7 separate regions of the Homo sapiens genome follow, and regions 1, 3, 4, 5, 6 and 7 are each linked to region 2. The links are contacts of gene promoters, found by promoter capture Hi-C in blood cells and fetal thymus (Javierre and others, 2016). All regions are on one chromosome and are shown on one strand. The core of a region is centred on a gene start or on the middle of the fragment in contact, and the rest is flanking DNA. Distances in the headings are between cores, read along the strand shown.

Evidence for each region. The method cuts DNA at HindIII sites, captures the fragments that hold promoters and counts their contacts. A CHiCAGO score of 5 or more calls a contact.
Region 1: a fragment that was not itself captured here is called in contact with the fragment with the promoter of ARL13B in region 2 in 1 of 17 cell types (total CD8 T cells); the score reaches 6.9 in total CD8 T cells.
Region 3: the fragment with the promoter of CPOX here is called in contact with the fragment with the promoter of ARL13B in region 2 in 3 of 17 cell types (non-activated CD4 T cells, activated CD4 T cells and total CD4 T cells); the score reaches 8.3 in non-activated CD4 T cells.
Region 4: a fragment that was not itself captured here is called in contact with the fragment with the promoter of ARL13B in region 2 in 2 of 17 cell types (naive B cells and total B cells); the score reaches 7.1 in naive B cells.
Region 5: a contact is called between a fragment that was not itself captured here and the fragment with the promoter of ARL13B in region 2, in 1 of 17 cell types (non-activated CD4 T cells). The highest score is 7.0, in non-activated CD4 T cells.
Region 6: a contact is called between a fragment that was not itself captured here and the fragment with the promoter of ARL13B in region 2, in 1 of 17 cell types (total CD4 T cells). The highest score is 5.5, in total CD4 T cells.
Region 7: a fragment that was not itself captured here is called in contact with the fragment with the promoter of ARL13B in region 2 in 1 of 17 cell types (total B cells); the score reaches 6.1 in total B cells.

What each region holds. Positions count from the first base shown.
Region 1 is chr3:98,036,836-98,040,701 of GRCh38, reverse strand. No RefSeq gene overlaps it. Among named protein-coding and RNA genes, the nearest start is that of GABRR3, 3.5 kb to the right of the region's middle. RefSeq lists an enhancer at 1,063-1,357. The HindIII fragment of the contact is 344 bases long and covers 2,011-2,354 here.
Region 2 is chr3:93,978,486-93,982,353 of GRCh38, reverse strand. It overlaps ARL13B (ARF like GTPase 13B), which reads right to left and starts at 2,199. Exons shown (of 10, transcript NM_001174150.2): 1 at 1,872-2,199. The coding sequence starts at 1,930. RefSeq lists enhancers at 2,032-2,161, 2,432-2,591. The HindIII fragment of the contact is 5,745 bases long and covers 1,557-3,868 here.
Region 3 is chr3:98,592,164-98,595,790 of GRCh38, reverse strand. It overlaps CPOX (coproporphyrinogen oxidase), which reads left to right and starts at 2,180. Exons shown (of 7, transcript NM_000097.7): 1 at 2,180-2,842. The coding sequence starts at 2,287. RefSeq lists an enhancer at 1,642-1,691 and a silencer at 2,192-2,641. The HindIII fragment of the contact is 5,536 bases long and covers 1-3,140 here.
Region 4 is chr3:97,825,195-97,829,376 of GRCh38, reverse strand. All of the region lies in intron 1 of CRYBG3 (crystallin beta-gamma domain containing 3), which reads right to left. Among named protein-coding and RNA genes, the nearest start is that of CRYBG3, 5.3 kb to the right of the region's middle. The HindIII fragment of the contact is 2,343 bases long and covers 896-3,238 here.
Region 5 is chr3:98,525,945-98,529,576 of GRCh38, reverse strand. No RefSeq gene overlaps it. Among named protein-coding and RNA genes, the nearest start is that of GPR15, 4.2 kb to the left of the region's middle. RefSeq lists an enhancer at 669-1,212. The HindIII fragment of the contact is 4,844 bases long and covers 1-3,632 here.
Region 6 is chr3:97,982,684-97,986,662 of GRCh38, reverse strand. GABRR3 (gamma-aminobutyric acid type A receptor subunit rho3) reads left to right here. Exons shown (of 10, transcript NM_001105580.3): 10 at 1-1,561. Among named protein-coding and RNA genes, the nearest start is that of RIOX2, 12 kb to the right of the region's middle. The HindIII fragment of the contact is 988 bases long and covers 1,979-2,966 here.
Region 7 is chr3:97,758,686-97,762,517 of GRCh38, reverse strand. It overlaps EPHA6 (EPH receptor A6), which reads right to left. Exons shown (of 18, transcript NM_001080448.3): 18 at 986-3,832. Among named protein-coding and RNA genes, the nearest start is that of ARL6, 4.2 kb to the left of the region's middle. The HindIII fragment of the contact is 1,619 bases long and covers 1,519-3,137 here.

The DNA of each region.
Region 1 (3,866 bases), core at 933-3,432, 4.1 Mb before region 2:
AATTCATAACATTGGAAGATCATACTACATTAATAAAGATGCATGAGATTGATAGCTGATATTAATTTTGTCAATTATGGTATCTTCAATGTATCAAACATTGTGCTAAACATACAGTCTCATAAATTCTGACTTTAACCTTAAAAGATAGGTCCTAGTATTATTCCTCTTAACTATATATAAAGTAACTGACTCAACAAAAAATCTTAGGTCATTTTCAATGTTCAGACAAGTAGTAAATGGAAGAATAGATGTTTGTACCCACAAAAACTGACACCAAATATCCCAATAAAGATTATCGCTATTGTCTCTTCTTAACCACTGTGTTTTATTGCTTCCTCAGGGGTCTCAAAAGTCACCTACATACATGTGCTTAATGAATACAGAAGAGGAAATTGAAGTCCAGGAAGTTTAAGAAACTTTTTAAAAATCATGCAGTAAGTACCATATCCAGTCCCAGAGCCATGTGCCCTAGTGTTTTATTTAGTGCCCTTTAGAAACTTTACTCATAACAGGTACTTCATTCTAATAGAAAGCTTATTTTTCTACAATGTTCACCTCTGTCTCTTACCGTTCCCACAAACAAAATGCTGTTCTTAGGTGTAGGTAAAAAGTGAAATCTTAAAAATAAATTAGTGTTCAATCAGAGAAACCAATAAACCTCATTAGTCAATTATTCGAGGTAAATAATTGCATTTTCCTCAATAACGGGGTGTGTGGGTTTTTTATCTGAATCATTTGGTATTATATCATTAATCTTTTCAGTTCATTCTGCCAGTATTGGTAAGTGAAAATTATTCACTACAAGTGCTGAATAATTTGCATTTACCAATACTACATAAGAAAGTTTTCCTAAGGAGGCAAATTCGAGACAATAGTAATTTGGATGAGAATGTGTATCCTATGCTTCCATCTAGTGGTGGTCTTGCGCTATTACACGATGATGAAGACTGCTTTGCTTTAGTGTCATCCTCTTGCCTGTAAAACAGAGCAAGATTCTTCAGGTGTCCTCACTCGTATCACAGCTGATTCTGTATGCCAGGAAGGATGTGATAAGAGACTGAAACAAGGGTCGTGGGGGGGACGATGGTCTACTGGGTATGAAAAAACGATGATCTACTGGTTATCTGGTAATTCTGGGAACTGGAGAGGAAACAGGATTTCTGAGTGAGAGCAGGGTTTTTTGGAAGGATAGCAAATGCCCCCTACTGGCTGCTCTAGGCATGGCCAGTTATATTTCCAATGCATCAAAGCAAAACAGTTACGCGCAATTTGATGACGGGGACAAACTCAGAGAAATGCGTTGTTAGGTGATTTCCTCATTGTGCAAACATTGTAGAGTATACTTACACAAAACTCTATGGTCTAGCCTACTGCACACCTATGCTATATGATATTACTCCTAGGCCACAAACCTATACAGCACGTTATTATACCAAATACTATAGGCAATTGTAACACAATGGTACGTATTTGTGTATCTAAACATGTATAAACATAGACAAAATAGAAAAGGTTCAGTTAAAATGCAGTATAAAAGATGAATTGTATAGGGCACTTACCATGAATGGAGTTAACAGGACTGAAAGTTGTTCTGGGTGAGTTAGTGAGTTGTTCTGGGTGACTGAGTGTGAAAGCCCAAGACATGACTGTACACTACTGTCAACTGTACACTTAGGCTATACTAAATTTATACAAAATATTTTTCTTTCTTCAATAATAAATTAACCTTAGCTTATTGGAGAACTGCAGTCATATATGTGGTCCATCACTGACCAAAACGTCGTTGTGCAGCACATGACTGTAAATATGAAAACTAAATTAGTTGATCACTTAACCTCTCTAGTCCTAGCTTCCTCTGCATAAAAGAGAGCAGGAGAGACATTAAATGTAGTCTAAATGATTTCCAAAAGTCTTTCCCTATTAAGATTTTATGACTCTACAATTTGCAAATCAAGATATTTTGCCTAGATGACATCCTGCAGACACAGTGGGAAATTTATAGAAGCTTGGAATTTGTTGTTGTTGCTGTTGTCAGATCCAGTCTAAATAAGACCTTAGCTTTTCTTTTGTTTTCTCTTTATAGGCAAAATAATGGCTACATACCCCAAGATTGGCGACACAGCCATCCTTTCCAAATTTTCTCTTTATGTCGCTGCCAAAGAAATAAAAACTGGCTGACTGACATCATCAGAGTGGAAGAAGAGTAAACAGGAGACAATTTATGCAAGGGAGAGCTTAAACTACTACGAAATTCTCCAGTGACCCTGTGATTCATTTTGTTTCCTGGTAGTTACCACTTTCTAGTTCTGACAGATGTGCTTTTCTGCTTTTTTTTTTTTTCTTAAGAAGCTTACTGAGCTTGCAAAGGGAAGCTCTAAAGGAATAAGGTTAAGGAGCTAACTCAGCATCAACAGAGGCAGATGCCTTCTTGTAATTGAACTAAAACCCTTAGACTTTCTGTAAGTCAACTCTCTCTAGTGTAAGCCATTGCCTTATTTTTATTTTTATGCAGACCATTTCCCACTTAAAATTCATCATCAAAAAACAAACTGCTTTTATTTCTTCCTTAATGTTTATAGCGATATAGATAGTCTAGCAAAGATTATTCAGTAAAGAGGTCAGACAGATTCTCATCATGATTCATCCCTGCGATGCAGAAGGAGACACCAGGGCATCCTAACATAATTTAAGTGACAGTGAGGAGGCATATGACTTGACAGATATTTCCGAAAAATAAGTGCCCCAAATAGCTCCACTGAGTCCTGTAAAGAGGACATCTTCTATTCCAGTGCTTCATTCCTTCAGATCAAAGACCACTTCGTGAAGTCTCCTCTTCAATCTTGCTTATTCTTTATCAGCTACCAATATTTCTTTGCGAACGTAAAAGTTTAGCAGTCATCAAAGGTTGTCTCAAGATGATAGGACACAGAATTTTGGTAAGGAGAATGTGCAAAGCACCAATTTGCCTATAAATGAGAATCTCACTGATTTACCTATGAATGAGAACTGGCTGTCATGGAGGAGTACTATTTTGGGAGAATGTAAGTATCGTGGTTTTCTTTTGTTTTGTTTTGTTTTGTTTTGTCTTGTTTTGTTTTAAAATGGGATCTGAGATCAAATAAGTTTGAGAGACACAGAATTCAGCAGAACAAAGCAGGCTTTTTTTTTTTCAACTGAAGCCTTGAACGTGTTAATATTCATTCATTATTTAAGAAATATTTACTAATACCAACTATACTTCAAAGATAATTATAAGTGTTTGGGATGCCTCAGGGAACAAAACAAAGATCACTTCCTTGCAGAGCTTACATTCTAGCCGGATAAGACAGATTATGAACAATAAACATAATGTAAATTATATAAAACATGCTAAGCAGGATGAAAGGTAGATTGGTAACACAGGTTGTAGGAGGAAAGAAAGAATACGGTATTTTTAAAAAGAGTGGTCAGGGTATACTTCATTCAATAGATGACATTTTAGCATACATTTGAATTTGTTAAGGGAGTTAGCCATATAGATATCCAGATGAACAATATGTCAGGCAAGGGTGACAACCAGTGCAAAGGCCCTGGGGTAAGAGTGTGACCCCTAACAGAGTAATAAAATGTATAATGTTTCCCAAACTCATTTAGTACATAACAATTTTTCACAAAATGCCTTCAGTGTAGCCAAGAAATACTTTGGGAAATGTTAGTGTAGATGTTGCTTACTAAGTGAAGAGGGGACGAGGTAATAGATAGTGCTAGGGCCGAGGGGTTGGTGCCCTGGATCTCGTAAGAGCACTGAGGTGGAATGTACTGAAACAAACTTTGACCACAGTGCGGTCTTCCAACAACCAAAGTGACAGTAGCTTAAGATGGGC
Region 2 (3,868 bases), core at 950-3,449:
TACTGGACAGGACAAATCTAGATGGTGCTTATTAAAGAAGAAAATACACTCTGGGTTATGCAGCTAAATTTTAATAATGCTTTATTAAGAAAATTCAATTATCTGTTCTACTTGGAAATCAATACATTCTCCTTTCTCTGAACTCTTCTCTTTAAACAAATCATTCCAGAGAGTATATATACAAAAGCTGCTAAGAAAAGGAAAGACTAAGAATGATGAATTAAATTGAACACTCCTTCTTCGAATTACACGTTTTCACTGTTTCTCGTTAAAAGAACGTAAGTTATATACATGCCTTCACAGAAACCAAATACATTTCTTAAAAGCAGACACGGAGGAAAATGAGGGGTCAACTATTATGAATGACCCTCAAGTCTTAGTAGATACTGTGAAATTAGACCAGAATATAATTAAAGCAAATAAATCAGAATCTATGCACCTAAAACAACTCTTTGACTTTTTTCTTTTTTTTTTTTTTTTTTTTTTTTGAGACAGGGTTGCACTGTGTCACTCAGGGAGTGCAGCGATATCGGCTCACTGCAACCTCCGCCTCCCAGGCTCAAGTGATCCTACTGATTCAGCCTCCGAAGTAGCTTGGACTACAGGCGTGCGTCACCGTGCCCGTTTATTTTATTGTAGAAACGGGGTTTCGCCATATTGACCAGGCTGGTCTCGAACTCCAGGGCTCCAAAGATCGGCCAGCTTCGGCCTCCCAAAGTGCTGGGATTACAGGCGTGAGCCACCACACCCAGCCCATCTTTGACTTACAGAGTTGATCTTACTACTTATATTTAAAACATTCAAATTCAGTTAGGAGCTAATAATGGGGAAGAATCTCTAGTTTCATTTAAAGTTACTTTTTTTCCAATCTAGACATGTATTTTCTGTTATAATGTGTAAGTGTAGCTTTTCAGATTCATTCTTTAAAGGATAGTTCATTCTCATGGCAAATATACTTAAAATGTTAACAATTTAAAAAAAAAAACAACTTTGCTTTATCTTACCCTTGGCCCAATTCCAGACTAGAACTATGTGAAGTCAACATTATTTGTGTAACAAACACAAGATCTCTTTATAGGTTAGGCCTCAGTTTCAAAAGCATCAATTTCACTGATTATTTCCTAAGACAGTGCCTGGCACAAGGTATTGTCTTAATAAATATTTTTTGAATGAATGAATATCAAGTAACAGGTACTAATTATTAATACTTCCAGCATTTCAAAATGAAATGTTAAAAAGTGGACCCTTTCAATTAAAAGGTTTTACTAGAGACCGTATAAAAATTGGAAGCTACATTACAGTTAAGAAAACACTATCACTTGTTCTCATTGAATACAATATTTCTAAAGCAGAGTATTATCACTCTCATTTAATATTTAAGAAAGGTGGGGCCAAAATGGTTGAGTCATGTAATTATTAAGTAGTGGAGCCAGATTTCAAGCCCACGTCCTCAAATACAACTGTGTGGAGGTGTGACTTGGAATGGAATGTGCGGATATTATGAAAACTATATTCCATGTCCCCCTCTTTTTAAAAGAATTTCCATTACAAAAGCTTCAGAGGAAAAACACACAATGGATAGTTTTCAATTCCACACACACACACACACACACACACACACACACACTTTTTAACAAATTCAAACCTATTTAAAATATAACAACGGTAAGCATTGTCAATCGCAACAGAAAGTCGACCAGACAACAAGGCTACATCCTCCAATCTCTCCCTCCCGGGACACCCTGGGAATGAAAGCATCCCTTGCGGCCTGGGATAGACTCGTCCAGGCGCGGGGAAAAGGCGGCGCCTCGCCCCTGGGGCGCAGCCATCTCCAACCCCTAGGACGGCCAGGACAGCTGGCTCCAGCCTACCTGACAGGCTCCCGCCACCGCTTGAACCAGCCGCAGCAACTGGCCATCAGACTGAACATCCCGGGTCGCTCCTCCCACCACTTCCCATCCGAGCCCGGAGCGGACACCGGCACCCCGCTCTTCCCCGGGGGCCTCCGGCACTCCGAGACGCCCCTAAAGTGGATAAGTCGGGAGGAAAAGCCGGGAGGGAAGTGAAGGCGGCCGGCCCGAGCACTAAGCCTTGCTAACCGCGTGGGTCCGCGACGACTGCCCTCTTAGCCAAGGAACAACCTGACCAAAGACGCAGATACACCGTAGCCGAGTTAGCGGGACCCGGCTAAAGAAAAGCCCCGCGTCGACGTGCTGACGTTACTTCGAGGCGCGGAAGGCGTTCCCCAGGCAACGCCCGTACTGCGCTCGCCCAATCATCGGTTGAGGTCCTGAGGTAGAGGCCTCTGAGTGGCTGAAGAGTCCTGGCTACCCGCCCCTGCGCGAGACTAGGAAAAGAGAAAGGGGAGTACTCTATAAGAAGGAGGCGGAGCTCGAGGTAGCTCGTTCTCGTAACTAGGCAACCGGAGCGTCCGGAGATAAGCTGGAGGATCCGGGACAAATCTCCAGCAAGGCCTATCTTTATACCTACATAAAATGTGTTGCCAATCCACGGTGCTGTTCCTTTCCTTTCTCCAGTGTCCCCAACTGAGATTCAGAGATCTCAGGTCTTGTGCATGGGTTTTTCTTTTTCTTTCTTTCTTTTTTCTTGTTTTTTGTTTGTTTGTTTTTTGCTCAGGGATGGGGACCCTCTAGAATTCTGGCCGACTTAGGCAGCATGACTACAGGAACAATACACTGGGGCAATTCTTGTAAGTTAAAGACAAGGGGGAAATTCGCTTGCTAAATTTTCTCAGTAGTTCAGATGAGAGTGAAGCCTTAATCTCTAAAACGTTTATTACTGTTACATATGTGAAACGGAATTGTATGATATTTGTTGTAGGGGGGATTGTGATTACAAAAGAAAAATGCATTTCTTGTAGAAAATGTGAAAAATACTAAAAAGAAACAAGATGAAGAAAATGAGATCTCACAGGAGCTCTCAAAGATAACCATTTGGGGCCGGGCGCGGTGGCTCACGCCTGTAATCCCAGCACTTTGTGAGGCCGAGGCGGGCGGATCACGAGGCCAGGTGATCTAGACCATCCTGGCTAACATGGTGAAACCCCGTCTCTAGTAAAAATACAAAAAAAAAAAAACAAAAAAAAACAAAAACGGGTGTGGTGGCACGCGCCTGTAGTCCCAGCTACGCTGGAGACTGAGGCAGGGGAATTGCTTGAACCCGGGAGGCGGAGGTTGCAGTGAGCCGAGATCGCGCCACTGCACTCCAGTCTGGGCAACAGAGCAAGACTCCGTCTCAAAAATAAATAAATAACCATTTTGATGTATGTTTGTTTCAGGATTTTTAGGTACATAAATTGCTGGCTATTTGGTATCTGCAAGATGAAGATTGTTATCTCTTGACTGTTTTGTAATAGTTTATTTTTTAAAGAGGTATGTAATATTTGCATTTCTTTTATATACTTTGGAGAAAAAGAAATGACAAGGACATTCCTGTAGGGAAAAAATTATGCACAATATGTAGGGATCTGTGTGTCCATTCATTTTCTACTTAAATAAATATTTTCAAATCCTGATGAAAGGATAGAAGGCACTGAGAATCCCAGTGTATTCGCGGGGAATATAATGATTTGAGACTAAGATACATATAGGTTTTAAATTAGTCTCTGTCCTTTACTAAATCATGTAACTTTTTTTGGTTTTGTTTTGTTTTGTTTGAGACAGAGTCTCCCTCTATCACCCAGGTTGGAGTACAGTGGCATGATCTCGATTCACTGCAACCTCCGCTTCCTGGGGTCAAGTGATCCTCCTTCCTCAGTCTCCCAAGTAGCTGGGACTAGAGACGTGCACCATCACGCCCAGCTGATTTTTGTATTTTTTGTAGAGACAGGGTTTCATCATGTTGCCCA
Region 3 (3,627 bases), core at 931-3,430, 4.6 Mb before region 2:
TATTTGTCCCAACTAGTTTTCTGATGTAAGAAATTACTTAGATAGGTGATGTCTTTTTTTCTTCCCCCATACCGACAAATACAACTTAAATATAAGTATCCCACTTGGGAACAATTTGAACCTCCAGAAAGGTGATTTAAACTCACACTAACAAAGTTATTGAAGCCTTTCTTAAGCATTGAATAACAGTTTGCCAGTAGGGAGGGTGCTAGGAACCAGAGGAAGAAAGGAGTGAGGCCCTTCGTATAGAGAGGCTAAGGATGAGAGGGATGGAAACCTGGAATCTAGTATGCAATTTGCTCAGGATCAGCCTTTGTGACCGGGCAAATGTTCAAAACAGTCTGTTCTTACTTAGCTTTAACTAACTTTATGGGCTTTACTAACTTTATGGGTATTTTTAGCAGAATTAGAGCAATAATGAGGGGGTTTCTTACAAATAAACGTACCAGGGAGGTTCCTTTTCATTTGATGAGGTTCATTTATCATCACCAGGCCCAGCCCAACCCCATCACAGGCATCCAGTAGAGGCCATCAACCCTTCCTACAATGACAATTCTTATTTCCCTTCCTCCACTTCTAACTTGGCCTCCTGGCAGGTTGCACTATGACCAAAAGCTAATTGTTTTTCTTCCCTAAAAGTCGCTTAGTCACTTCTCAATCCAAGCCTTTACTTTTCACAGATTCTCAGTGGTGAGGCTTCGGCAAGCACACCCACCTTGCTAACATCATGTCCCAGTGAGAGCTGCCAGGTACAGTTGTGTGTGGACAAGATGCCAATTGATCTGACTCAAAAGCCATTGAAGTTCCATCAGTGCATCCTGCCACAAAGAAAACACTTGTGGGAAAAGCTACCAGTGGCTTAAATTATTATCTACTACTAGAAATTAAAATCATCCCGGAGACTTATGGGACAAATTAGCCCATGACAATAGTTCTCACACTTTTACGTCCAGGAACCATGGAGCTGTGGTATGGTTACAGGGGAGACAAAGACCTGCCTGTCAAATCTATTAGCTTCTTTCCTCATTTCTTTAAAGGGTGGGGGAAGGGAGACAGAGTAGGAGGAAGTGTGGATATTTGCCTTGCCTAGTTTGTAGCAGTTGTTGTAAGTATTAAACGTGAGCAATATTTGGGAGCACCCTACAGTAGTAGAATAACTATTTTTTAAATTCTTATTTGTTAATCACCAAAACACACCAAGTCAGGAATTTTCTACTGGTTAACCAAAACAGTCACGTTGCTTTTCCTTTTTCTAAAATAATCAAGTAGGCACTATAGAAGCAAGGCCTGGGGAAACCTTTTTTTTTTTTTTTTTTTTCTGAGACAGAGTCTCACTCTGTCACCCAGGCTGGAGTGCAGTGGTGCGATCTCGGCTCACTACAACCTCTGCCTCCCGGGTTCAAGCGATTCTCCTGCCTCAGCCTCCCGAGTAGCTGAGCCTACAGGTGCACGCCGCCACGCCCGGCTATTTTTTTGTAGTTTTAGTAGAGACAGGGTTTCACCATGTTGGCTGGTCTCGAACTCCTGACCTCATGTGATCCAACCGCCTCGGCTTTCCAAAATGCTAGCATTACAGGCTTGAGCCACCGCGCCCGGCCCCAGCCTGGGGAAATCTTAAGGACAGAACTGTGATGTGGACTCGATCACAGAAAGTCTTCTCCTCGACTCTCTTCCGAGTCCATTACTAGCTTCTCCCACTCTCTTTAGAAAACCATCCTTCAGCAAAGAGTTTCCCAGCCTGCCCATCCCCTCTAAAAACTCTAGAGGACCAGGACCCAGGGCGAAGGGCGGGTCTATACAGATCCTGAGCCAGGCTCTGTATTCGCAAATCCTGTTTGAAAATGTAAGCGGGACTGGGATCTCTGCCACATTTCCGCCCCAGTCCGCCCTCAGCCTCCCAGCCCTACTCTATCTTCTCTCCTTGGCTGAGTAAACAGCCGACCCGAGGTTGTACGTGACAAGAAAGCCTCTTTTATCTCTCCCGTCCCTTCCACAGCACCGTCCCCGCCCCACTCTCTTCCCTTCGGACCAGCCCTTCTGGGCGCGTCGGATTCTTATCTCCCGCCCCGCGCAGGGACGCCGCAGGCGGCGATAGGATCCGGACTACAGCTCCCAGCGCGCCCCAGTTCCCGCCCCCGCCTCCGGAGCCCGACGCTGCAGCGGCTCTTCTCGAAAGGTTCTTTCCGCCTGTGCAGCTCGCCGGCTCAATACTCCGGGGGTCTGGGTGGGGGGCTCAAACGCAGGGCTCTGGGACGCAGGCACTGCTCCAGGTGATAGTGCGGGAACATGGCCTTGCAGCTGGGCAGGCTGAGCTCGGGCCCCTGCTGGCTCGTGGCGCGGGGCGGCTGCGGAGGGCCCCGCGCCTGGTCCCAGTGCGGCGGCGGAGGGCTCCGAGCCTGGTCCCAGCGCAGCGCAGCCGGACGCGTCTGCCGGCCCCCTGGCCCGGCTGGCACGGAGCAGAGCCGCGGGCTGGGGCACGGCTCGACGTCGAGAGGCGGCCCCTGGGTGGGGACAGGGCTGGCCGCGGCGCTGGCGGGGTTGGTGGGGCTGGCCACCGCCGCCTTCGGGCATGTGCAGCGGGCGGAGATGTTGCCTAAGACCTCGGGGACGCGGGCCACTTCGCTGGGGAGGCCGGAGGAGGAGGAGGATGAGCTGGCCCACCGCTGCAGCAGCTTCATGGCCCCGCCTGTGACCGACCTGGGCGAGCTGCGAAGGAGGCCGGGCGACATGAAGACCAAGATGGAGCTGCTGATTCTGGAGACCCAGGCCCAGGTGTGCCAGGCTCTGGCACAGGTAGACGGGGGCGCCAACTTTTCTGTGGACCGGTGGGAGAGGAAGGAAGGTAAGGAGGCCGGCCCCTGGCGGGAGTTGGAGACAGGGAAAAAGGGTCAGGTTCCAGGTTGCAGACAGAAAATATAATAGTTCACAATATGGGATGGGGTAGGTAGGGGGTACCCACAGAGAGGCCGCTTGGTTAGAGGCCGCTGATAAAAAGATGGACACGAAAGGGTCACTAGCCCTCTGCTTGCAGGTATGGACCCGGATCAGCTGTCACTGTAGTACTGCATTTCAAAATCTTTGCAATTCCGTAGCAGCATTTTTTTGTAGAACTCTTAAGGGGTATTTGCAGCTAACAAGCTTAGATGTCCAAAGTTCGTTACTGAACATAAATTTCAATAGATTATGGAACACATTTTCTCTCCTTCTCTGGGTGAATTTGCCCTTTTTCCTCTTTAGGAGATGGAAAGAACTCATCTCCTGTGCGCTAAGTGTCGGCTAAACTCCTCCAGCCAGGATGTCATTGTGTCAGAATCTTCCCACTTCTTTTTACTGTTACACAAGATATATTTGATTCGTTTCTCAGTAGCACTACCAAATGCACGCATCAGATTTCCTGCTAGGAAAATCTTCTCTTCCAATATCAAAATACTTGAGCATCAAAACCCAGTTCTCGTAGAGGCGTACATTCATGACCATGTTGTTGCCCATACAGTGAAACCCCACATCTTGAGTGGAAACTTGAAAGATTCCTGACTTTTCCTAGCTGGAAATACAACAGCAGCTTCTCACCGGCAGATTTTGAGCTGTGATACTGACACATCTATATTAAATGAAGTTCAGTCTAGT
Region 4 (4,182 bases), core at 818-3,317, 3.8 Mb before region 2:
GTTGATATATTTGTGGCTGCAAGTGTCAACTCCACCCAGTTTCACATTAGAGATTAATAATATAGAAAAGTCTCACTCCTACTTGTACAAAGTGTCAAAATATCAAATTACTCTGCATTACAAAAACTACTTCTGTTTATTTATATCCTTAACTGAAACTTTTCCCCTTTGAATAAGTTAATGTAGTGCATTCTCTCTCTGGAGGATTTTTGCCAACTCAGGATCATACATTCTCTTGTTTTCTTTTTTTTTCCTTCTTTTAGCCACAGGTATTCACCAGATTTTAATCCAATCTTTTTCTTACTTTATGAAATAGGTAATTCACATAATTTTTAAGTGTACAAAGGCATAAGACAGTCTTTCTCCTGCCTCTCATCCCTTCACTCAGTTCCCCATACCCCCAAAATAAGTTATGCAACACTAGTGACAGATTTATTTCATATCCCCTTCTTTTGTATATACAAATGGGGCATACTATACACAATTAGTTGTAGCTTAAGTTTTTTTTTGTTTGTTTGTTTGTTTTTGTTATTTTTTTTTTTTTTTTTGAGATGGAGTTTCACTCTTATTGCCCAGGCTGGAGCACAATGGTACGATCTTGGCTCACTGCAACCTCTGCCTCCCAGGTTCAAGAGATTCTCCTGCCTCAGCCTCTGGAATAGCTGGGATTACAGGCAAGCACCACCACACCGGCTAATTTTTTTTGTATTTTAGTAGAGATGGGATTTCACTATGTTGGTCAGGCTGGTCTCAAATGCCTGACATCAGGTGATCCACCCGCCTTGGCCTCCCAAAGTGCTGGGATTACAGGCATGAGCCACCACGCCCGGCTTTTTTTTTTTTTTTTTAACTTAATGTATCTTGGAGATATTTCCTTAACAGTACATAAAAAGCTTTCCTATTCTTTTTGGTAGATACATCATATTTCACTATATGGATGTACTGTGATTTATCAGTTAGTCCACAATTGAATGGCATTCTACTCTATTTTTCATCTTTTGCTATTAAAACAATGCTGCAATGACTAACTTCTATAGGCAACTTTTGGCCTGTTTGCAAACTGTACATGTTCAGTGGAATTCCCTGAAATCAGAAATGCTGAGTATGTGAATCTGCAATATTGATAGGTCATATCAAATTTCTCTCCAAAGTGGTGTATCAATTTATACTCCCACTAGTAGTGTATAAGAGTTCCAGCTTCCCCACATGAAACTGGAGTTTTGCTTATCAAATAGGTAGAATATGGTATCTTGCTATGGTTTCCATCTGAAACTCTCTTTTGAAGGAGACTGACCCTTTCTTTGTATTTAAATATAAATCTATAACCTGCATAAATGTGTGCATTTATTTTCCTCTCCCAACTCTCAGGAGTATAATTCTTGATTGTCCATAGCTCTGACCCAGTCCATCTGGGCAGATGTCCAGCTGCATGCCATTGTCTTTTATTTCCATTCCAAACCATTTTCTAAGGGCAGCCTTCTTTTACGAGTCTTCCCAAGTTAAGCGGAGGAAGCTGTCACATAATGCTGTAGGCTTTGAATTCAGGAAGGAAAACTTGACTCTTGACTCTACTACCAATATTGTGAGACTTTTGATTACCTACTGAACCTCTTGAAGCCTTAAATTATATATTGTAAAAGGGAGTAAAGATACGTTTGCTCTGAGGATTAAGTGAATTGATATTTTTAAAGTTCCAAGCTCAGGGCTTAATAAAGGGTATTAAGGGTACCCTTAATAAAGGGTAGGGCCTTAATAAAGGTTAGTTTGTTTTTGTCATCATTAATTGATTAGGAAGAAAGAAAACAAACACACACTTGGTTAAGCTCTTGTTTCAGTGCTTTAGCATACTTCCAATTAAAAACTCCTGGGAGTAAGTAAAACATTCAGGGACAGTCCTGCTGGATGGAGTTGTACCATTACTTGGCCACGTACAACTGCCAAATAAACACTAAGAATGACTTATTACTAGTGGAAAAACTTCGATTTGTTCTCTAACAGCATCAACCTTCCTGGTGTTTCTAAGTGCCTACTTGAAGGTTGGGGAGGGTACCACCCCTAGCTGAATGTTACTAATAAGTCCTTTAATGCTCCAATCAACAGTCACTCCTCACCTGAACTAAGGGGACGCAAAGATGAAGACAAAGCCCCTGACCTTGGGTCTAGCAATCCTGTCTCAACTTCTTTCCATCAAAAAAAAAGCACTGCCACTTTTTTGGAATGTTGATTCCCGAAGGGATGCCCTTTTCTGCCTCTATCCAGGACTTGCAAAGCCTGAAGGGTCAAGGAGGAAAGCAAGAGGAACCAAGGGGCAGCATTTCCATTCACCTTGATGGTGCAGTTACTATCATGTTTCCCCCACTATGCTGCCTTGGCAAAGGAAGCTAACCAAACCATGCTTGGAGAAAAGTTAATAATGTGAGAACATATTTTGAAAGCCCAGTTAAAGTTCTCATACAACGTATGACATTCGTGAAACATTAAGTATGCTCTGAACGAAACAAGTCACACACTCCAAAGACATGTTTGGTTTATAATGAGTTCATATTAAGAACAGAGATGTACACTTTTATCTCCTCCATTAATGTGTGAATTCTATGAAGGCATATTTGGTCATCCATTTATGGTTATATCCACATTGCTTTGCACCATATGAGACACAAAGCAGCCACTCTAACTTATGGATTGAACAGACTCAAAGTAGGTATTACCTCCTTAACTTTTACTTCATGCTGATTCCTTCTTTTCAGCATATAGCCTAGATTATTTTCCTTAATTTTACAACCACCTACAGTTTGTTGCTATCATTTTATTTAATAATTGGTAACTAACGTTTCTTATATCTGGACTTTGGTATATTTCATCAGAACTTTGGATAGAAAATATTTTGTCTTGAGGGAATATTTTCTCTTATTTTACAAAACTTGCTATTACCCTTTTTACATATTTTCCGCTGTTATGAGTAAAAAAACTTAAAAATGTTATAACTGTCAATAAAGTTAGAAGTTCTGATTATATAAACTTACTGCAGGTCAATTTGTGGTACCTTTGCAACTTTAACACTTTCAGAGCATACAATTGAGTCCATTTCCAAGGAATGTTCACAGCAAAAAATAGAATTCCCAAATTAGCCATCTGGTAGACACCTTATTGAACCCAAGAGATGGAAATCACTTGGAAAAGGTGGACTTTTGATACCCTACAACAGGCTATATTTTGACTCTGCTGCCAAGAGTAAGCTTTTGCTTTGAATTAACCTAGAGGAGCAGAGGGGGACAAGATTCTCACAAATTACACACCCCTAAAGACTTCTGGAATTCTCTCGTCATCTTCACTACTGAAGGCATGAACTGCTGATGTGACACAGGTATCTCCTATCCAACTAACTAGTTACCAATTATTTTTAGTGCTTCAAATCAATAAAAATGCAATCATCATGACAATTTAGAAAACAAAGCTTCCTTTCCTCACATAACTGATGCTGTTGTCAACACTGGTAGTTTAACCTGAAGGCCAATAGCTCTCCCATGCTGGTCATCAGAAGTACTACTGACATTTCTGACAGTACAGAGTACCTCCTACACCACAGCTCATTAGCAGCCTGGTCCCACCCATTCACCTCCTCTCACGATTTAGGGTAATCACTCTCCACTGGGAGTGGTATCACTCTCCCTCCCACCCACCTGGGTGGAGGAATTTTCAGTTATCCCAATGACCAGAGGATGCTACTGGCAATTAGTGTGTGTAATCATGGATACCAAACATCTTGCAAAGGACAAAAGAGTCCAGTTCAAAGAATTGTTCCATTCAAAACGCCCATAGCATCCATCACTGAGCACTCTCCCAAACTCAGTTTCTTCAATTGTCAGATCGTAAAAGTGGACCAACATTTCACACTGAGTGTGAGATTTACATGATACGTTGCAAGTAAAAGTACCCAGCCCAGAAGTAAGTGCACAGTCAGCCCTTGATAAATACTGTTCTCACCTTACCATCTCTCTTCACAGTTACAAACATTGCACAGAACTCATTTTAAACAGGTCCATCATGCATGATACAGCCAAGAAACAAAGTTGAGCAATCATTTCTTGAAGCAGATAAAGGCAGGAATTCCTCCAAGTTTCATATTTCAGCAATATCTGTATAACAGGCTTTTGCAAAAATTCTCTGAGCCTTAAATCTAGA
Region 5 (3,632 bases), core at 916-3,415, 4.5 Mb before region 2:
TTTAATCCTTTGATATGTCTCAAGAATTCAACATAAAGGTATTATAAAATGGAAAAAGAGTTCATGCTCATACTGTAGAGGAAAATATTTGGCTGCACATTCATTCTGTATCCCTTAAATTTTTTTTTTCAAATTTCAAAAGTTGCTGGACCGCTGATGTAAACTATCTCAAATCCAATTTCCTCAGCAAACTATTGAAGCAGTTGTAGATAAAATAGTTTGCTTTATCATTATGTGGCCACCTTGAAGTATGATATTTAATGGTAGAATGTTACAATGTGAGAATACCCACCTTGGATCAACAGCATCTTTGTACCCAAATCAGAAAACAAATTAAATGTTTTAAGCCAAAAACGTTCACATAGCATAGTGCCAGTCTTTTAGTACCTCAGAGTACAATGCTAGTACAAGACAGAATCCACAATAAAGCTGGCTAAAGTGGGGTTGTAAATAAGCTGGTGCAACGGTCAATTTTAGGACTTTGAGTTTTCTTTAAAATAAACATGAAGATACTAACAATAAAATAGAAACCTACACATAGATCAAAACTCAAAAGCAACACTGGGTTCCATAAACATATGAAAAGTCAATGTAAACAGAATGATGGCAAAAAAAAAAAGAATAATATATAAGTATTAGTAACTGAATTAGAGCATATATGCCACATCTTTGGAATTCTTTTTCTCAGAAAATAACACTCAACTTTCCTCCATGACTCCTGGCAGAAATAACTGCTTCTTCCTTTGTATTTCCTAAGAACTTTAAAAATACTGGTTACAAAGTACTTGTCTCTTTTCACACTGTTAGTTGTCTTTGTATCTGACCCCTGGAGCTGATAATGAGCAACCTGAAGACAGAGTCCATTCATTATCTCTGGACTGGCCTCTAGCATACAGAAGTTACCCAACTAAAGTTCTTTTAGGACTCTTAAAGCCATTGTTTTGAACCTGTGGATGCCAGATCGTTTTACCCAGATTAGAGTCATCAGGGACACCTGCTGAGCTGTAGATTGCCAGACCCTATTCTAGATGTCCTCAGTCAGAATCATTGGGGAAGAAGTCTAGGACTTTATATTTAACAAGCATTCGAGGTGATTCTTATACACACTAAAGTTTAGAATCACTGTTCTAATTTATATAAGTTAACCAACATTATATATTATGCTTTGTTATTATTTTGACTAATTTTTAAAAAAGGCTTAAAAGTTACCTCAGAATTTGAAATTTGTGGAAGTCTTTTAGTCTGAATATCACAAAATTTGAGGAATTAATTTAGATTTCTAGGCCCTGCTTATTCTATGTTCCAATTCCTGAGTTATGCTCAGAACTGGTTCAGGTGTTGAAGATGAAGACAGAGAAAGGTTTTCTCTACTGAAACATCTGCTTGAGTGAATCCATTATTATTTGCTGTGGCTTGCAGCCTCTGCTTCACAAGCAGGCTGAAGATTTAATAATAGAGCCACCCCTATTAGGCTTATTGAACTTATGATTATATTACTTCGGCCTCTTCCCTGTCAACCACCATATCAGGTGGAGACTCATCAGATTACATGCATATAGCACAGAAGAAAGAAATCCCTGGATACGAAGCCTTTGATTCACACATGCTCTGCTGATATGTCCCAGAATAAATGGCAAAGAGCATGAAGCAACTAATTATTTCTCATTAATCTCATCAGTCAAACGGTGTCATTATATATTCACTTGTTAGATACATTATCTTGTCCATTTCTTAAAGTGCAAAGTCAAATAGTTAAGTTTAAGAAAAACGATTATACTGTTTATACTCTAGGAGTTTATTTTTATTTTTAAATTCTCAGTTACTTGGAGAATTTAGTACTATATAATGTAATATCACATCATGCCAAACTAAGTGGCACGTATTCATTATTATGAGGGCCCCCCACTTAATTTACTGGCTTATTTCCATTGGTAACTAATATATAGATAGAAATGATGTTACTATTCTAGGAATATATACTTTAGATTTCTTCGAAATAGCAGATTTAATCTGAATTTAGGTTGTGCATAACAAAAATTATGTTTATTTATGTTGGTGTCCTTGGCATCCAGCAGAGTGTCTGGCAAGCAATAGATGGTCAATAAATGATTATAGATCTGGGATGAATCATGCTTGAATTTTGAGTTATTTCCGCAGAGTAGGGACTTTTCACAAACTTCTTAGACAGCTTCCATTTTCTATTCAGTCCTGGGATCTTTGTCACATCATAAACTAATATGAAGAGATGTTTCTAAGTTAATGCAGCACATTTTTTGTCAACTTATGCTTATGTTTTCACTTGGCACATCTTGTTGAATCAGAAGCAACTTGCAAACCAATAAATGTGAAAAATATCATTATCATGGCCTCATAATAAGTATGACGGATAGTGATGAGAAGAGGACTCTCTCAATGAAGACTCTTAAGTTTATTAATAATTAAATTAATTGATTATATTAGTTTCTTATCTGCAATAAGATTTTTTTTTGAAAAGTTATTTTTGGGAGGCCCACAATTCATACTCATAACTCTATACTAATAAGTGTCAATTAGAAGAAATCAGAAAAGTTTCCTTCCATAATTTTACCTTCATAATTACTGTTAATCTTTGAAATAGCAAGGGCTGTTTTTCGGTACCTTTTCTAATCAGAATGCATATAGTCTTCCTCCTTTTCCTTTGCAATCTACATTTGCCACTATCTCTGCTTCTAGTACATTGCCTAGGCTTGAGGTATAGGGTATATAAATTCTGCAATGAAACTCTAATGCTGTGGATCTATGAAAAACCGTATTTTGTAGTTGCATTATTCTTCTTCCAGTAGAATTATAAACTGTAAAATTTTAGAGCTTCAAGTGGTGTTAATGATCATTAGTACAACTGTTTTACTAAAGAGGACCCTAGGGTCCAGAAAGGGGTCATTAACCAAAGATCCATTGATAATTTTTAAATAAAGGATAATTTAAACTTAAACTTCTCATTTACATATGGGTCATTCACTGTCTTTCAGAAGCATGGGCATCTAAAAATTATAGTTTTTTACTATATGTGGCACTTTACAGGAATTACTAAAAAAAAAAAGGAGACATTTTAGGTGCACTTTTCTATTTGCCTTGATCTTGATTCTGTTATTGTTCTACAGTGAATGGGTGCAAGGAAATTCAAAGATAGGTACATTTTTAAAAATGGTTTTTGGTTGGAACCCAGAATTGTACATATTCCCATTTTTTTCCTTTCTGAACTCCAAAGTTCACAAGGGAAACAACCAGAAAAAAAATTACATGAAGAAACATAATGTAAATATATCTTATAATGTAGATATAACTTTTAGTTCCTAAAAATGTGCAATTAAAAATAAAATATTAAATGTATTGGGGAATTTAGTATTGATGGAAATTCTAGTGTGAAGGGTTGTTTCATAAGTACATAATAAAAACAAGTTACAACATCTGAGTATCTAGATTTTCAGTTATCGGTTTTATTTTAAATGTGCTATAACTATAATGCCTTCCGGTTGAAACTAGAACCATCTTTAACAAGTTAAGCTAGATGTCTCATTTAACTTCGCTTTTAAACCTAAATTCCATAATCTCTACATGGTTGCACAAAATCATCTTTCATATTTGTGAAAATA
Region 6 (3,979 bases), core at 1,223-3,722, 4.0 Mb before region 2:
CAACTTTAAAGCCAGATGATGTTTAAAAACAAAACTCTTGAATATGAGTTGGATAGTCCTAGATGGAACTGGGAAAGAGCAAGTCACCTCTCCTGCCCTAATGAAAATTTGAAAGCTGTCTGATTTACATCTAAGAAAGAGTTTAGGTCCTAGAAAAGTTTGACTCCATAAATAAGAGTCATAGGCATGTGTATTATGGGAAAAACAGTTTTCCATTGGGAAGGGCTTTATAACTACTTCATCTGAACCCTCCTTCTTTCTTAATGAAATGTTCTTTATTTAACTAGGGAAGAAAGCTGGACTATAACAATAATTCAAAGATATTTTGTTTCTTAGTGCCAGCCAAGTGCCTGGTTATCTACCAGAGCTCAACCGTCCTAGGCAAGAACATCCACATAGAGGTGGTATCATCCACACTCACACAGCTGAGAATCCTATGAAGGATCTCCAATCTCCTTCTCCAGTCAAGTATTTATTCTTATTTAAATATTGTTTCAGGCCAGGTGCCGTGGCTCATGCTTGTTATCCCAGCACTTTGGGAGGCCGAGGTGTGCAGATCATTTGAGGTCAGGAGTTCAAGACCAGCCTGGCCAACATGGTGAAACCCCGTCTCTACTAAACGTACAAAAATTAGCGGGCATGGTGGCACACGCCTGTAGTCTGTGCTACTTGGGAGGCTGAGGCAGGAGAATCACTTTAACATGGGAGGCAGAGGTTGCAGTGAGCTGAGATTGAGCCACTGCACTCTAGCCTGGGCGACAGAGCGAGACATCATCTCAAAAAATAAATAAAATAAAAAAAAATATATATATATATAAAATATTGTTTCATGTATTTGTGAGCATAAGTGGAGAGGGGAAGCTAAACTTCCACTTATTCTTCTCATTCTAATGTTAAATTAATACATCAGTCATCAATAATAACATCTCGCATTTTGTAGATCATGTATTGTTTTCACAGCTTTTTAGAGGTTTTTAATTAATCACTTTGTTCAACAAATGTTTATTGACCACCTACGTGTGCCAGGCACTTCACTAAGTGTTATGTACTGAAAAAATGAATATGAAATAGCGTTCCTGCCTTCTCTAAGTGCATAGCCAACAGGAGCAGTGAACTGGAGCTATAAAACATGTGACGAATGTTAAAACAGAGGTATGTACACTGTCTGGTGTGAATTCTGAAAGGGGGATACCAAAGAAAGGAAAAGAACATCTCCAAAGGGATGTGGACTCTCAATTTATAAACAACTGGAGATGCTTCCAGATATTGTATTGAGTGAAAAAACTGAATGAAATGTATTTATCCCATAGTAATCCTTAATATCTTTGGTCGAACCAAGTAAACCAGGTCAAGTGGGTATTAAATAAATTTTTGTTAAGTAGGAAAACCTCCTATGATCAGTGTTCATTTTGCAGATTGGCAGTGTGCATGCTTTTGTTTTGAGTATTTTCTGAACAAGATTCAATTTAAAGAAAAGCCCTTGGCAGGAAATATGAAATATTCCGATACCTATTTTGATTGCTGGGATTGAATTAAGAGAAATAAATTAAATGGTGTATTACTTTCAGTGTAATTCCTTTTATTTCACCATAAAGTAAATCAAAATGATTTGAATTACTTTTTCACCAGGTGAAGAGACAAAAATTTTCTGCTTTTTAAACCAATAACATTGGTTTTGATCCTCCGTTCTGAATCACAGAGGGTTCTAGAAAAGTATCTTCCTCCTGGGTACAAAATATCAAAAGGAAAATTATTTTTCTATTATGAATTCCCTCACAGGTAGGCTAACTCTGGGATACTTCATTCTATTTTCTTAATACAACTTTTCCAATTCTTTTGAAACTTCCCAAGGATTATATTTGTATATGATACTCTCCAAAATTGAGCTAATATAATGTATTAAAACCCTTCTCCATTTCATTGTAGATAGACCATAAATAAACTTCAAAAAAACTATTTATTTAATGGGTTTTAAGCTTGATTTAATAGTAGTATTTTGGTAGGATTATATTTTCAAAATATAGCACAGATTAATATTCTAGATGGCCAGGAATTTATAGCTATTATTTAGCCTAGCACTGCAATTGTATTACATTTCTGATTTTGACAAAACCAGATGTTTAAAAAGGGACAAATATACAAATGAACAGAATAAATCTACACTGTTCTCTTCAACCAATACTCAGCTTCTTCAGGCTTTTCTGTTTTTTTCATATACTTTGAAGTATAACATTCAATATGTCGAATGCTTCCCCTGGGCATATTCATTTCCCTGTTTTGAATCAAATGCATCACTGAATACATTTGGCAATCTAGTCTAGGAGAATGGGTCTCTATCACACCCCCACACTTGGCATTCCTCTGGAGGAGCATAAATGCACATTTGTTAGCCAATCAAATGTAACTTTTGTTAATGGCTAGCAATACAGGCATTGTATTCTTCAATAATGTACATCTAACACTGAAAAAGAAAATATGTTTACTGCTTAAGGGAATTATTAGAGTATTTGGAATGAGCTCCTAGGAGTTTTGCCAGTTTTCTTCTCTTGAGATTGGTGGCTTGTGAAGTCTGTGAAGAGAGGACTGTTTCCATTAGCTTCATTTCTCCTCGGGAGCAACAAGATTTCTGTTTGGTTCTTACTCCAAGAAGAATCAAATCACAGTTTACCTGAAAATTATGAGAGTGAAGACAGCATATAAGAGTTACCTCATTTTGATTTTCACTTCATTTATTCATCACAATCCTGAACAGATTGTGCATGATTGTTCACTGAGGGATAAGCCTGGATAAAATGCAAGGATTTCAGAAAATAAGCTGCTTTCTATGATTAAGAAGAAGCCAGCTCGCTCTGTAAACGGCCTAAATATAGAAATGGGCTATTTTATAGGAACTACTTTGGAAAACCCATGAAATAATATACTTTAACTTAGTTTTATTGTTTCTGTTCTGGTTAGAAAATAAAGCTTCATTATTTAAAAAATTTTAAATATCCACTGGCAAAAAAAATCATCTACCCAGAATTAAACAGTTCACATTTTAATGTACATTCTTAGAGGTTTTCTGTTCATAATTTACATTTTTTCAAATGGAACACTTTTGTAAACACTTGTGTTTATTAATCTAAGCACTTATATCAAGGACTGTCTGCTGGGGATACAGTAACAAAAGATGGACATGGCTCCTACCCTTATTGAACTTACATTGTGTTGGGGAAAGTGTCTATTTGTAGCCAGATTTTCTTCTCTGTTCCTGAAAACTGATTTCCATATGCTGCAGAGCTGTTCACTGAATGGGTGCACCATAGTTTACTTCACCCATCTCGTCCTGCAGGACATTATTGTCATTTCCTATTGTATGCTGTTACAAATGGGTTGCAACTAACAATGTAAAGAACACTTAGAAGTAAAATTATTTTTGATACAAATGAAATGTCTAGCCATATTCAAATTTCTGCACTTATTTCCTTCAGAAGAATCCCTGTTTGCAACTAGAACCTGCCGTGTCAGACTCACTCATGGGTCTGCCTAGAAGCTCTGAGGTGTAGATTACTGTAACTGAAGAACCTTTTAAATTTTTAGTTCATTTTTCCCCATGAAGCAGAGCCTTCTTATATATATCTGCTGGCATTCCCTTTTCATAATGGAAGTTTCTGCATTGTCTAAAATACTTACATTAAAGCAGTCCTATGTATTGAAAACCTGCTTCTTTCCATGACTGCTATCACCGCTACAAGCCTTTGCCATCTTTCTAAGTAAGAGAGTAACTGAGATTGCAAATATTTGCATATGAGTTGCTACAAAATCATAACTAGCCTGTGACTACATTGTCTAAATCCTTGCAGGTGAGTTAATCTTCATGAGTAAGGTCTATTGTTCCTTACTGTGCCACTTATAAGCCTGTTCAAATCACACACACACACACACACACACACACACACACACACACACCTCCCTGTACATACAATTTTTTTAACATGGA
Region 7 (3,832 bases), core at 1,079-3,578, 3.8 Mb before region 2:
GCTGAGGCAGGAGAATCGCTTGAACCGGGGAGGCAGAGGTTGCGGTGAGCTGAGATTGTGCCATTGCACTCTGGCCTGGGCAAAAGGGTGAGACCCTGCACTCAAAAACAAAACAAAACAAAAAACATAAAGGCTGGGCACACTGGCTCACACTGTAATCCCACCACTTTGGGAGGCTAAGTAAGGCAGGAGGATCTCCGGAGGCCAGAAGTTGGAGACCCCATCTCTATTAAAAATAAATACATATAAATATTTCATATGGTTGATTCTGCTGTTTTGGTGCTTTGTCAACTGAAACTCCTCTCACGAGTACATTCAGAGGCTGAGATACAATTGTTTCGCTTGATTTAAGAAGTTAGTTTGACTCTTTTTTATTATGACAATAACAAGCTTTAAAAATGCTACGTGATTTTCTTAAAGCCACTTAACCATAACAGAAGATAATTTTAGGTACCTTCTCACCAGTTTTAATTTCATACTGGCTTTTAGAACTGTAGTAAGAAAATTATAAAAAAGAAAAGAGTCAGATATAATGAACACAGCACTGTTCTGATTAATTCAGGATACTTTAGCGTTATTTTCTCACCAGCAACTTTTAAAAGAATATAGATAATCCCTGATTTATAACTTACTGCAACTTTTTGGTGTAAACTTTGGTCTAAAGCTGTGTTTCAACAGTTGATGTTATGTGTACCCTTTTTTCATCTGCAATTTCTGTGCAGTACTGCCTCTGCAATGAACACTTTAATTTACTTGAATCTCACAAAATATTTTCCAATATAAAATCGCTACAAAAATATTTACTAGTTTTTTATAGTGATTTCTGTGAATTTATGTCTAAACCTAATGACATTATTTAAAAAATTTACAACTATGATTTTGCATCCAGAATTACTAAATTATCTAAACAGCATCTAGATTTATTAGACCAAAAAATAAATTGCATTAGATCTGCATAAATACAACAATACAAAAAAGTCACAAATTCAACCACCAAAGCTGTAACTTTTATTTGCCAATAGATATTTTAATAAACAGGCTTACTCCATCTGTAAGACCCTGATAATGCCTCTTAGGAAATCATAGAAAAATAAAATACAATAATTAGTAATTTGTACCTTGTACAAAAATCTTATTATGTTGCTCAGCAGGTAGTTTGCTAAACAGCATATTCTTTCAGCAAATAGATGACATATGTTATGCAATTCACCACAAACAACCCCTCATATTGAGAGCTGAGCATTCTATAACACTATTAACTTGTAAGCATGCCAGCACATGAAAATTTACATGGAAAGTTATTAATATTATAGTAGATTTTTGTAAGATAAAAATAGTACCACCTTCAAATAAGTCTGGACTACTTCACTGCTATAGTAAAGTAGATAATAGGTAGGATTGCAGTTCAATTGTTAACACCTTTTTACCTTGTTTATAGCTCTACCATATTGTGATTATAACCAGAAAAGAGAATGTAGGCTGTGTCAGGAACCTGAGTGGAAGGCATATATTGAAGCTTTAAATGGTGACAGAATACTAAAGAGAAAAACATAAAACAGTGCTATACTTCCCTATTCTCATAGATAAATCTTTTTCCCCTTTTGTAAGAGCAGATGGGTACAGAGTTAAATCCTTAATTAATAATAAATAGCTTCATGACAAGTTACAATGATGCTTTAAAAATCATATTTGTACTTATAGGGAGGGAAATTATTTTTAGCTGTCGTTTTTTATTAGTCAAATATAGCTCTATGAGGGATTAAATATCTCAACCTAGACATGTTATCTAGGTATTTTATATAAATATGCTATTTAGTTTGCATATACTTCAGGATTTGTGCTACAAAGATTTTATAACATTTTGAGTGCACTGCAATTGTTGATATCATCTACCATTTAAAATTTGATGCGGCCATTTAAAATTTAAAGTGTTTAATCAAATACATATGTATATGTACATCTATATCTTTATATTTTTGGCTATGCTAGAACAGCAAAAAATGGAGAGCAATCTCCATTATTCACAATCTAATTTCACATCAAATCCAAATAATAATGCATCTTTAAATTCCAACATATTGAATTACATACAACCTAGAGAGATATATATACACACATACACACATACATATGTATATATACATATGGTATATATACATATATATAATATATATATATATATCTCCAGAAACAAAGCACCAAGCACAATTAAAAGATCACATTCTTCCTATAGGATAGAGGGGCACAATGAACAACCAACCATATTGCCCATGTGTTTTCCGTAAATGACAGAAGGCATTGTTTTCCTATATGAAAACAAAATAATTTTTACTAAAAGATTAGTTCCTGTTTGTCTTTTATTTTAAAATTTACATGGGACCTCAATACCCTCCCAAATCGTGTTTGAAAAAAGTGACAGGTTGATTATGCAATATACATCTTTCAGGATTAAGCTAATTTTAAGTTTGATAGGCTTTGCATTATAACAGATTAGCTACAAAATGTTTCTGCCTTTTAATCTGTAATAGATGAAAATAAGGAAAACAGTATTTATGGCATTGAGAAGTTCTCAATCTCTACATTATGGAAAGGACTCTTACCAGAGTCCTTGGAAACCACAGAATTCAAAGTTTCGGGTCTTCCAATAAGATGTCTCAAAAATATTTAGTAAAGATGCCTTTAAAATATTTCATCAAATATATATTCACTTTCCTACTATCCAACTACTTACATATGTCTCTTCCAACCTATACGTCCTTCCCATCCTGCATATTGGCTTTTATCTCATTCTTGGTAAAATTAAAAAAAAACTTACGTAGTGACATCCTTCCCTTTCTACCACAAATATACCAACCTATTTGCACATTACACATTCTGCCTTCCTTTCATTGGAGTTCTATATTCCGGCACCTATCAAAAATTAACCTCCCTACTTATGCTTTAAATCGCAACCCCTCTATCTCTCAAGGCCTTTGTTACAATTATCATCTCTCTTGCATAATCAGTTTTCCCCTGTCTGCCAAGTCATTTTCATTAGTAGATAAATATGCTGTAGCATCCTTAAAAAACAAGACAATTCCTTGACTTCCTTTCTCCAGCTATTATCCTATTTCTCTTGCTCCCTTTACATCAAAGCTTTTTGAGAGAGTTGTTTATAGATAGTGATTTCACCTCCTTCCTTTACATCTCGCCTTAATCCATGTCAGTTGGGATTTGACTCCACTATTTCATAGTTGATAGTTGACTCCACTATTTTCATAGTTGATGACCTTGTGAAGGTCATCAACAACAACAACTTCCATGTTGCTAATTCCCATGGACATGTCTTTGTTCTAATCTTGACTTCTTAAAAGCATTTAATCCAGATGAGCAACTGCATTTCCTTTTTCTCTAGCTTACTTTATACTCCATTTCTTCTGTTTAATTCTAATTATCTGCCTATTAAACATTGGAATAGCATATAGTGCAATCCTAGGCCTACCTCCACAGGCTTTTCCTAGGTGATTTCCAAACTTTAAATAGCATATATATACTGATGCCTTCCAAATCTTGAAGTAGTGAATCCACCACGTTTTTGCTGGAATTACTCCAGTAGCCTCATGCGTATACCTTCTCCTCTTTTTGCCTCATTTCAGTGTACCAAGAACACTGTTCTCTACTCTCCAACACTCCAAATTTTCATTCATTAACTATCCCCCTCTGCTTGTAATTTCATTCATTAAATTTTCCCTCTGCTTGTAATGCTCTTCCCCCATATCTTCTCATGGATGCTTCCTTCATGCTTTTCAGATATCAGTTTAAATGGCATGTCCTTGGGGGAAGATTTCCTCTA